2 separate regions of the Homo sapiens genome follow, and region 1 is linked to region 2. The links are contacts of gene promoters, found by promoter capture Hi-C in blood cells and fetal thymus (Javierre and others, 2016). All regions are on one chromosome and are shown on one strand. Each heading gives the region's core, a stretch centred on a gene start or on the middle of the fragment in contact. The rest is flanking DNA. Distances are from core to core; before and after follow the strand shown.

Region 1 (5,220 bases), core at 2,048-4,547, 610 kb after region 2:
CTTTTCATCGCTGAAACAATGCTCTGCTTGTTCTCCCCGGGCAATGAGAACTACCCGGGCTTGGATCAGTGGGTCACATTGTGCAAAGTGTTTTTCCTGTTTAAACTATGTGCTTTCTTAAATGTTATCTTTTTGGAAGAAAATTAGATAACCTTATGTCCCCAGACTATATCGTATTTGTTTGAATAGGAAATGCTAATATTTTTCTACATGTTTCGTATCGGTGTCAGTGGAAACTCAGTTTGGTGGTTAAGACAGGCCCCTCTAAGCTCTGGGAATCACATTGGCTATCTTCCAGAAGCCAAGAGGTTCACGGTGATTTTGAATAATCATCTCCATAGCTATGTGAAGTATCTATATTACTTAGCCAGAAGAAAACAAAATTATATTTACCTTTTCTGTATTTAATTAATTTATCTTTAAATATGTCATTTGATGAGATTTTCCTTCTTAATTTCTCTTCTCTTTACCTCCACCTCCTGTGTTACTTCTGCTTTCTACTCAGTCCTACCAATCAACTCCCCAAACTTCCTGCAACCTCTACTTAAAGATCATGCTTAATTAGTCATTATACCCAAGGATCTCTGCCCCATCCATCTGTTTCTGCATTCCCATTGGTCTAAGCCAATGCCTGTTACATCACAGCCCCACCCCTGCCCATGACTAGAGGCTCCCCCTTCCCACATGTCCCCAGTTGTGTTCAGGCCCCTTTATCTGACATTCTTGGAAGCAGAAATAGCAGCAGAAACACATTTCTGAAACAACAGACTCCCCACGCGAACAAGGTCTCTACTAAGACACATCAACCAAGTCCTCTGAAAGCAGCACTGCCCTATCTAAATTTTTTTAAAGTGAAGCTTGTCATTTGCACTTCAATCTCCATTTTTCAGTACCTTCTCTTCAAACACACGTGTTTACGTACTTAATACCATCTTGCTTCCCCATATGAAAATCTGCTCCCAGAAAATCTAGCGTCAGGCATGTATAACTTAATGCAAATTTAAGTTGGTGTGTTCCTTCTCCCAAGGGTACCTCAATTCTAAGCCCTGTATCTAACTAAAGAATGAAGATGTGTCCCCTCTTGATCATGTTTTAGCCGTCGGTGCTCAGATGGGAGAGATGGCACTTTCGACAATAAGACACACTCTTTCATGACTTTATTGTCACAAAAACATACCACGCAAGTGCTTTTCTGCTCCACTAGAACAAGAAAGGCCTCCTAAAAACCCTAAGTGTCTGTTTAAACTCAAAGCTTTAAACCTGAGACCCTTCCACCCTAAATGATAACACTGCTCTCCTGTTGCTCTATAATCAAACCAATAGCCTTAACTCTATATCTGGCAAATACAAGCAAGTAGCAATCATGCCCTCTGTTAAGTAAAGCACAAAAACAACAATGAGCAGAGGTGGGCTCATTGTAAGCCATGAACCTTAAGTCTCGGGGCCCTTCGCTTGCACAGGCCCCTTCCCAAACCCTAGGCAGGGGACCTAGCAATTTTGTATGCGTGATTTTACATTCTTTTTAAAGAAGGCCCCAAAATTGTATAAGCTTCAGGCCACATACAGCTTTTAGATCCACCCTGTTAGGGACTGAATTGTGTTCCCCAAAAATTCCTATGTTGAAGACTTAACTACCAATGTAACTGTATTTGGAAAAATAGGGCCTTCAAAGAGTTAACTGAAGTTAAATGAGGTCATAAGGGTGGAACCCTCATCCAATATGACTGTTATCCTTATAAAAAGAGGAAGAGACACTAGGGCTTCATGCACACAGAGAAAAGCCGCCATCTGCAAGCCGAGGAGTGAGGTCTCAGAAGAAATTAAACCTGTCTACACCTCAATCTCGGACTTCAAGCCTCCCGAACTAGCAGACAATCAATTTCTATTGTTTAAGCCACCCAGTCTGCAGAATTCTCTTATGGCAGAATCCACACCCCTAGAAATTAGATACCATTTTTTAACTTTTCACTATAAAATTTTCTTAATGTTAACATTCAGTTTAACACTGAAGTATAGTGAAATAGGTAATCAAACATACATTGCTGACAGGACATGATTCAACACAACTTTTTGGAAAGCAAATATTAAAAGACATAAAAATACTCGTTTTCATTACCCCAAGAATTCTTCTGGGACTCTATCCTGACCAAATAACTCAAAATATTTTAAAAACTATATACACAAAGAAGTACATTAAAGTATTATTTACAATACTTGCCCATAACTGGAAGCTCCCCCTTCCCATGAATTACAAGTTGTGTGGGCCTTGGGTTTGTGGAGGAATCTGCCAGGGACTTTTAAAGATTCCCAAATTTGACTGTACATCTATATATGAAATTGTGTTGGTTTATTTGCAAAAATGGTTCCAATAATTCTTTCCATTCCTGTCTGCATGCCCCTCTGCCCTGTGATATTTCTGCCCCACCCATCAAGAAATAGAGTCTCTTTTTTCATCCTTTGATCTGGGTTTGGCCATATGACTTGCTTTGGCCTGCAGAATATTAGCAAATATGATGCAAGCAAAAAAGGCTTGAAAAACGCTTGCACATAAATCTTGTTTTCTCTTTCTGCACCTGAAACCATGAGACCTTAAGGCAAATAAGCCCAAGATAGGGCTATGATGCTAGAGAGGAAACATACTGAAAAGCCAAGGCACTGGCCAACAGCCTGCCAACCCAACTATGTGATTGAGTCCATGCTAGACCATCTAGCTCCAGCCGAGTCTGCCCGGGCCAGAACTCTCCCAGCCATCTCAGCCAGCCACAGAATAACGCACTAAATAATAAATGTTTGTGGTTTTAGGCCTCTAAAATGTGGATGGTTTGTTATGCAGCAAAAATTAACTAATACAATAATTTCCCCCTGTAAAATGCTTGTGGGACAAATTGAGAATAGGCAAACTATGTTAATATCTTTATACTGAGTAAGCAGTTGGTGTTCTAGCTGGTGAGCTCCTGAGTTCCAGTCTTGCGACTCACATTCCCCCAATGCTTCAGTAAAATTACTAATTACCACATTCCATGGACCTCTGGATTGCCTGAGAATACCTGAAATCTTGAACGATAAATCTGCATATGCTTATAGTCTGGTTTAGTTTAAAACTGGAAATAGGCAGAAAGCTCTACATTACACACTTCCCTTTCATTAAGCCACTTAAAATTATGGCTATGAAGACAATGTAGAAACATGGGGAATATATTAATGCAATATTAAATGAGAAGAACAAGATAAAACACTGTCCTTAAATTATTATTATAAATATGTAAAGAAAAATAGCTAAATAGTTACAATGAGGAAAAAGACTATAAATAATTGTGCCAAAACACATTAGAAGCTGCTTTAGGATGTTAGATTATGGGTAAGCAGTATTTTATTTTATATATTTGCTGTAATATTACCTTCATAATTAATTATATTCGTAAGTTTAAAAAATTAATATATAATAATTTTAAAAATTAAAACCTGGATATGGGTATAGCCCGTCTGTTTGCTGTATAATTTTTAACCATACAGACTCTCTCTGCTAGTTTAAAACCATAATTTCCCAGAATACGAAATGAAGTTTTTATTTATTTGGATCTTACTAATATTACACTGGAATTTTACATAAATCTGTTTAGAATCAATTTAAACTACTTTAAAGACCAGGACCTGCCCAATTTCACTAAGTTAATAATTATTAAAGCCTCATGGGTGAGGCCTTGTTTGATTCAAATGTAAGCTGAGGGCCGAGGCAAAAATCATGTTGCCACGTTTTTAGGCCATAACTATACTGAAAAATAGCTCTAGACCCAGTTACCTATCTTGGAATGAGCAGATCTTATTCTCCTGAAAAAATGCTGTATACGACCAAAACTTTTGTTAACTAGTATGGATTTATACCCACAGCCAGGAAGGCATTATGAGAGAAAACAATAATAAAATCAGACAGTTTGAGTGCTTTTCTGTGGCTCCCCCTTGGACAATCTCTTTAAAAACAGCAATTCCTTTGACTTTTGACCTCAGCAATCTCCTATTTTTGAGCCAGTCTTCCCCCATCTCACATCCATCATTGTAAAATATGTCAAAATGAGTGAAAACATGGATTTCATCTCCAAGAAGTTTTCTTGTGAAACTTAAACAGAAAAGATTCTAGTCCATACGGGCTCCAGCCTCCCCCAACTATCACCATAGACTTCCCACATCACTGCAGTCAGCTTAACGTAAATTCTTAGGAGAACCATGTCAGTCTCTGTTAATAAACATGGTTCCAGCACACAAATTCAATTGCATTATGAAATCTAATATGTCAAATGGCAAAACCATAACACACAAAGTTCATGTAATCAGAATATTAAACAACTGTCACTCAGTTGTAATACTTTCAATTCCGCAACAGCAAATGGCTCCATTAATAAGTAAAGCAGCAGGATTCAAATGGCTTTCTGCTCTTATCCGCCTGGGGCTCCACCACCACACCAAGGTGGTTTTAGGAGTCAAACTTGATTCCAGGAAAAGATCTGCCCTGAAAAAAAGGGGAAAGAAACTAACCCTATAACATTTCAAGCCAGAAGTGTAACCATTTGCCAATTGCCTTCTTTTACTCGCCAGATACTGTACCTCTGCCCAGTTGAGTGTCAAGTCTTTAAGACTGCAGAGGTGAACTGGAACCCTTCAATATGAGACTTGTTCTGTACACCATGTCCACAGCAGCACTATTCACAATACCCAAAACGTGAAAACAATCCAAGTGGACATAGATCAACAGATGAATGGATAAGCAAAACCTGGCACGTTCATACAATGGAATACTATCCCAGTGAAACATTACTCAGTCTTAAAAAGGAACGAAGTTCTGACTTTTTTGGATCTTACTAATATTGCACTGGAATTTTGCATAAATCTTTTTAAGCCCAATTTAAACCACCTATGAGCCCAAAACAAGTCTAACCTCACTAAATTATAAATTGTTGAAGCATCCTGGATGAGGCTTAATTTGATTCAGATCTAAGCTAAGTGCAGAGCCAAAAATCACATTCCCACCTTTTTAAGTGCAATAACATGGATGAAGCTTGAAGACATTAGGTTAAGAGAAATAAACAAGACACAAAAGGACAATATTGTATGATTCTGCTTATATAAGATACGTAGACTAGGCAAATTCATAAAGACAGAAAGTAGAATAAAGGCTACCAGGGTCTGAGGGTAAGGGGGAATGGAGAGTTTTTATTAATGGGTACA
Region 2 (5,240 bases), core at 1,229-3,728:
CTAAAGCATCATGTTCTACTTCATATAAAAAAAATTTTTTTTAAGCATACGCTCTCTACTATAAAAGAACAGGTAGGTAGGTTATTAATTTTTAAATCTTACATTCTGATGTGTACATAGGAGATAATACATATTTCTTAATATAAATAATGATTATAACAGAGTTTATAAGATGAGATCCAGATAAAAGAAAACACTTTGATTAAAAGTTAGGAAAGAAAACCTGCTGCATTTGAGACCTAGATTATTGAGATGGGGTCCTTTGCACCTGAACAACTCTCTCCCATGAGACTTTTTATGTGGGAGAGGTCCAGCGTTTAGACAATATACTGTCATTGCATGGACTTAGTGAGCAGCTATAGGATAAGGAGATTGATGCTTATATGTGGCTTAGGGGAAGCCATCCTATGATTTTATACCTTGAGCCATGCTTATTATACCTGGCCTTCTATAGTTCCCAATTTACAGGTATTTAGTTCCTTGTGTCTTTGCCTCTCTCTCCTGCTAGGAAACTTACTGTCTTAGAAACTTATGTTGAAAAGATGTAGTCATTTTTAAAGTTTCTAGACCACCTCTATATAACTGCCCATGCACTTTGACTGGTTTCCAGGTATTTACCTTGACTGTTTTTGATCGGGATTCTGGATTTCTTGGTGCTGGCAGGTCATGGAGTAAAATAAGTCATTGGCACATGGTGAATGCATGGATCCTTGACACAAATCACTCAGCATCCTGCAGACACTTTTGGCTGTTGTTGTTCTCCCAAACCTTTGGGGCAGGTTAGGAACACGTCTCACGAGGCTCACCTCCATATTTCTTCCAGATCTCAGAGGCAGGTTGGCTGTTGCTCCAGCACTTCTTTCTTCTTGAACGTTCCTCCCAAATCTCAATGGCAAGTTGGCGAAGGAGTGTGGCATTTTATTGACTGCAGGTGTACTCATCTTAATAACATTTTTTGGTCCCCAATCTTTTAATTCCTCAAAATTGAGGCTTCTTTCCCCTTTTGGGTATCCTCTAGGCTATAATTAGAAATGACCATTACAATAACATACTGTTGTTATAAGCAACAGATTTAAACCCCCAATTAACTTAAATCTAGACTTTAATCTGCAGAATTGTTAAAGCTATAAACAAAGTTTGTGTTCATATGTGCAGAATTTTTAAATGATTTGTATTAAGCTTTTTAAAGCAATATAGTTTCTCTGTCCCTAGACTATTGTAAGACAACCATAAAATATTTATAAAATATATATAGTGAATACAGCAATGAGTTCAAGCAGCAGGAACATAATGAAGTACTGAAATGTGGCAAAAGTTTATTTTACTGCAGTTATTCTCTTTTGGTTTTTTTGATTCATGTTGCTTATGGAATATTTTATATATTTTTATAATTTGATTTTAGAGAAACCTCCCACTCATTTTTCATGTTTCTCTTTAAAGGCCAAAGTGGCACATGGAAACACGGTACATCAAAACAGAGATGCTGGCCAGGTTTTGGGGTATAGTTGTAGAAGGCCCAGTGGATTTCTTTTTTATTCTATCTTACTCAGGGTACCACTCTAAAGCTTTCTCAAGAAACCAATTGCATTTTTATTAGAATATAAAATACATTTTTAGCAAAGAACTCATTGGTTTATGGGTTACTGCATCACAAGTATGCCAACTTTGTAGGAACCATCTCAAATACAGAGAATATTTAATTAGATTTAGTCTTTACCATAGGAGCTTGTCCATATGGAAATTTTTAAATGATTGTTTTCTGATTATCCCTTGAGTAAAATGAGTATACACGCTAATTTCATCAGATTTGGAAAACACATAAAAGAAAATAAAAACAATTTGCAATTTTACCATCTACAGGTAAACACTTTACTAAGATATAGATTTAGTACACATTGGCCAGTTTGTAATTGCTAAGCCCAAAAGAAATGTGTTTTTTGTTTGTTTGTTTGTAGTTTAAAACAATTTGAATGTCCAGCTGAAATGTACCCAAATCTTATTTCTGCCAACCATTTATTACAAATATGCACTTGTGAGTTGATTGAAAATTATTAATGCGCTGTATGCTTGCTAAGTACCATACTCACCAGTACAATTGTCATGACAGAGGCCAGCCTGATTGCTGTCGTGCTAAATAAACAAGTGACATTTATACATTGTCAGAGGAAGGCTGAAATTTCACAAAAAAACAGAGTACACACCAACTTACTTCTTAGTCTTTACAAAATCATTAGACTTAGGATTAATATTATGTAATTAATGCTACTCACATTAGAGAGATTTAAAAAACTTACCTCAGAATATTTGTCATAATTTTCTTTGCTGTGAAGATTGGACATCACTAATTCATCTGCACAAAAAATGTTTGATGTTAACAAGCTTGAAGTGGCTAAAGTCAATAAAATGAATAGTTTTGATGAAATAATTTCCATTTTGTCTAAATCTAAAATTAAGTCTCTATGTGCAGCCCAATGTTTATGAGAGGAGAAAAAAATTGTGGTGTTTTTATATCGTCTAAAAACAAAGGAAAGTTTTTTTTAAACAGTGAAATCAATCTCACACATTTTAAGTACTAATATTAATTAGAGTGTACAACTAAAATATGCATGTAAGGAATGTGAATAATTCATTCTGGGAAGACAGCAATGTTTGTGCTTGCAAATTCATTAACTTTGAAAATAATTTTCCTCATTATAAAAGAGCTTCTAATTAGGTAAGTTTGGGGGGATAGTAATTAAGATTCCAAACAGACAGAATGCTTCATTTCTCTAAGCTTAAACAAAAAGTATTTTGTTTTTGGTGTTTGTGTCAATTCTTGAGGGAAGGAAAAGGAAGTATTCAATCCATGCTAGCTATGTTTTTTTTTTTTTAATCTGCACAAAAGAGTTAGGCGTAGTATTTTCAAAATGTCAAGCAAAATTAAGAATGTGAAAAAAATTATAATATCCCAACAAAATGCCATGAATTAGTTTTTTTGTAAAATGCTGTTTGGTTATTAAAAAGCTTCAGGGGTCAATGTTAGCCGTAACATGAAGGATGTGTATATGAGCAAATACTTGATAGGCATTTTGACAAACTGGCGTCTCAGGAGAAGCTGGAGGCAGTCAGGCCCTCTGTATTTGCTCTATGGGTCTTATTTGGTAAAGCTGTGTCAATCACCAAAACTTTCTATCAAGATGCTGCATCCTACCTTCCCTCTCAAAGTCCTTAGGGAGACTAGCAGGGGCTTGGTAAGTCATACACATGCTAACTCTATTGGTCCCAGGACGCATATTATTTAGGTAATCGCGTATTGCCAAAGGTGTGCTGTCATCATGACATTAAAAGAGAATTTACAGAAATAAATGCGCATTTACTGAAATGCCAAAGCGAATCTCTTTTGGAGCAGCTGACTGTTCTTAAATATCTGCCTTATCACTAGACTGCCTGGGTTCTAGAGACACCTTTACTTGTTCCCACCAGTCCCTTCAGCCCTTTCAGGAGAAAAAGACTTGCATGGATTTCCTACAGTCCAGCTACTTCTAGACACAGACAGTTAGAGGTAATTCACAAAGAGTTGTAAAATTGCTCTGTTGTGTCTAGAACTGTGCCACCTCTCACCTCTCTCACCAACCTACCGTATGTAATTTGAGACGTGAGATGGCAGAAGTGAAGATCTTTCTTCATATTGATCTCCAGAACAAGCCAGAAAGTTGAAAAACCACAGTGGGTGAACTCTTGTGATACAAACTTGCCTATGGTCTCTCTTAAGGCATTTGACATCATTGGCTTCATTTGTTTTGGTTTGTAGTAGCCAAGAACCCCACAGTAGGAGGCAATTAATTCAATTCATAGTCTATCGTTAATTTTGTAATGCCATTATTGGATTATTTGGGTTTAATTTCCCTGAGGATTTAATACATTTCTCTTCCAAATTGTTCTTTTGCAAACTGCTGATGGAATTTCTTTGTGTGTGTGTGTGTGTGTGTGTGTGTGTGTGTGTGTATGTATGTGTGTGTAGTCAGTAGATCCAAACTTTTGAGAAATGAATGAATCAAGGGGCAAGTTTTGTTGACTGAATTCACACCCCAGAAAAAGCAGAAGGCATCAGCCTGAGTCTTTTTCAAAATGTATTTTTATCTAGTTGTCATTTTCAGATAAAATGCAAATTAAGCAGCTCACCAGTTTTCAGTGCTGCTACTAATGGGTGTTGGCAGATCCATTAGAATTTTCCTGATGACAATCAGCATACACATATGACTTAATTGCTCCCTGCCTCCACCAGGTTAGGACTCCACGTTTGGAAGGTAATTAGAATTATCTTATTAATATGGGGCTTGGGCCAGGCACGTGGCTCATGTCTGTAATCCCAGCACTTTGGGAGGCTGAGGCTGGCAGATCACCTGAGGTCAGGAGTTCAAGACCAGCCTGGCCAACATGCTGAAACTCCATCTCTACTAAAAATACAAAAATTAGCCAGGAATGGTGGCACATGCCTGTAATCCCAGCTACTCAGGAGGCTGAGGCAGGAGAATCGCTTGAATCCAGGAGGTGGAGGTTGCCGTGAGCTGAGATCACACCATTGCACTCCAGCCTGGATGACAGAGCGAGACTCTGTCTCAATAAAAACAACCAACCAACAAACAAACAACAACAAAAAAAAAACGGGTCTTGGCTCTTTTCAATTATATCTTCATTTAACTTTGAAAGTGTTAACAGATATAGAACATACAAAGTATGAAATCACCATAAATCTTTTGTTGAAATGTGCTACTGCATACACACATACAGATTAATTGGTTTAGGGTCTCTTGGTGAGACATATGAGGATATGAAAAATTTAAAAAAATCTCTCTCTCGGACTTGTGGCATTTAAATACATGCTTCATTTGCTAAGATTTTAGTGGCTCTAGGACTACTCAATTCTAAGCCTATCTCTTCAGGCTGGTCACTTCTCCTGAGCTTTTGAACCTCCCACTCAGCTTCCTACCAGACAGTGCTGTTTGGACATCCCACAAACATTTCAAGTTCAGTATGTCTGAAATGGAATTTATCTTTTCCATACCTATTTTTCCTCCTATGTTTCTCATTTCGATGAATAGTACTGCATCTGTCAGGGTCCAATCAGGAGACAGAAAACACACAGTAACTTGAACAGGAAGTGATTAATACAAATAATTATTAATTATAACAGGAAATTAACTATAAAGGGGTGAAGAATACACTACAGTTGAGAGACAATATCCAAGGAAAGAACAAGC

What was found. Contacts are between HindIII fragments. The CHiCAGO score rates a contact against its expected background, and 5 or more counts as called.
Region 1: a fragment that was not itself captured here is called in contact with the fragment with the promoter of NPVF in region 2 in 1 of 17 cell types (M2 macrophages); the score reaches 5.0 in M2 macrophages.

What each region holds. Positions count from the first base shown.
Region 1 is chr7:25,832,517-25,837,736 of GRCh38, forward strand. LOC100506236 (a long non-coding RNA gene) reads right to left here and starts at 568. Exons shown (of 3, transcript XR_108752.5): 1 at 394-568. The HindIII fragment of the contact is 3,501 bases long and covers 1,548-5,048 here.
Region 2 is chr7:25,226,008-25,231,247 of GRCh38, forward strand. NPVF (neuropeptide VF precursor) reads right to left here and starts at 2,479. Exons shown (of 3, transcript NM_022150.3): 1 at 2,295-2,479; 2 at 619-1,019. The coding sequence starts at 2,432. The HindIII fragment of the contact is 394 bases long and covers 2,378-2,771 here.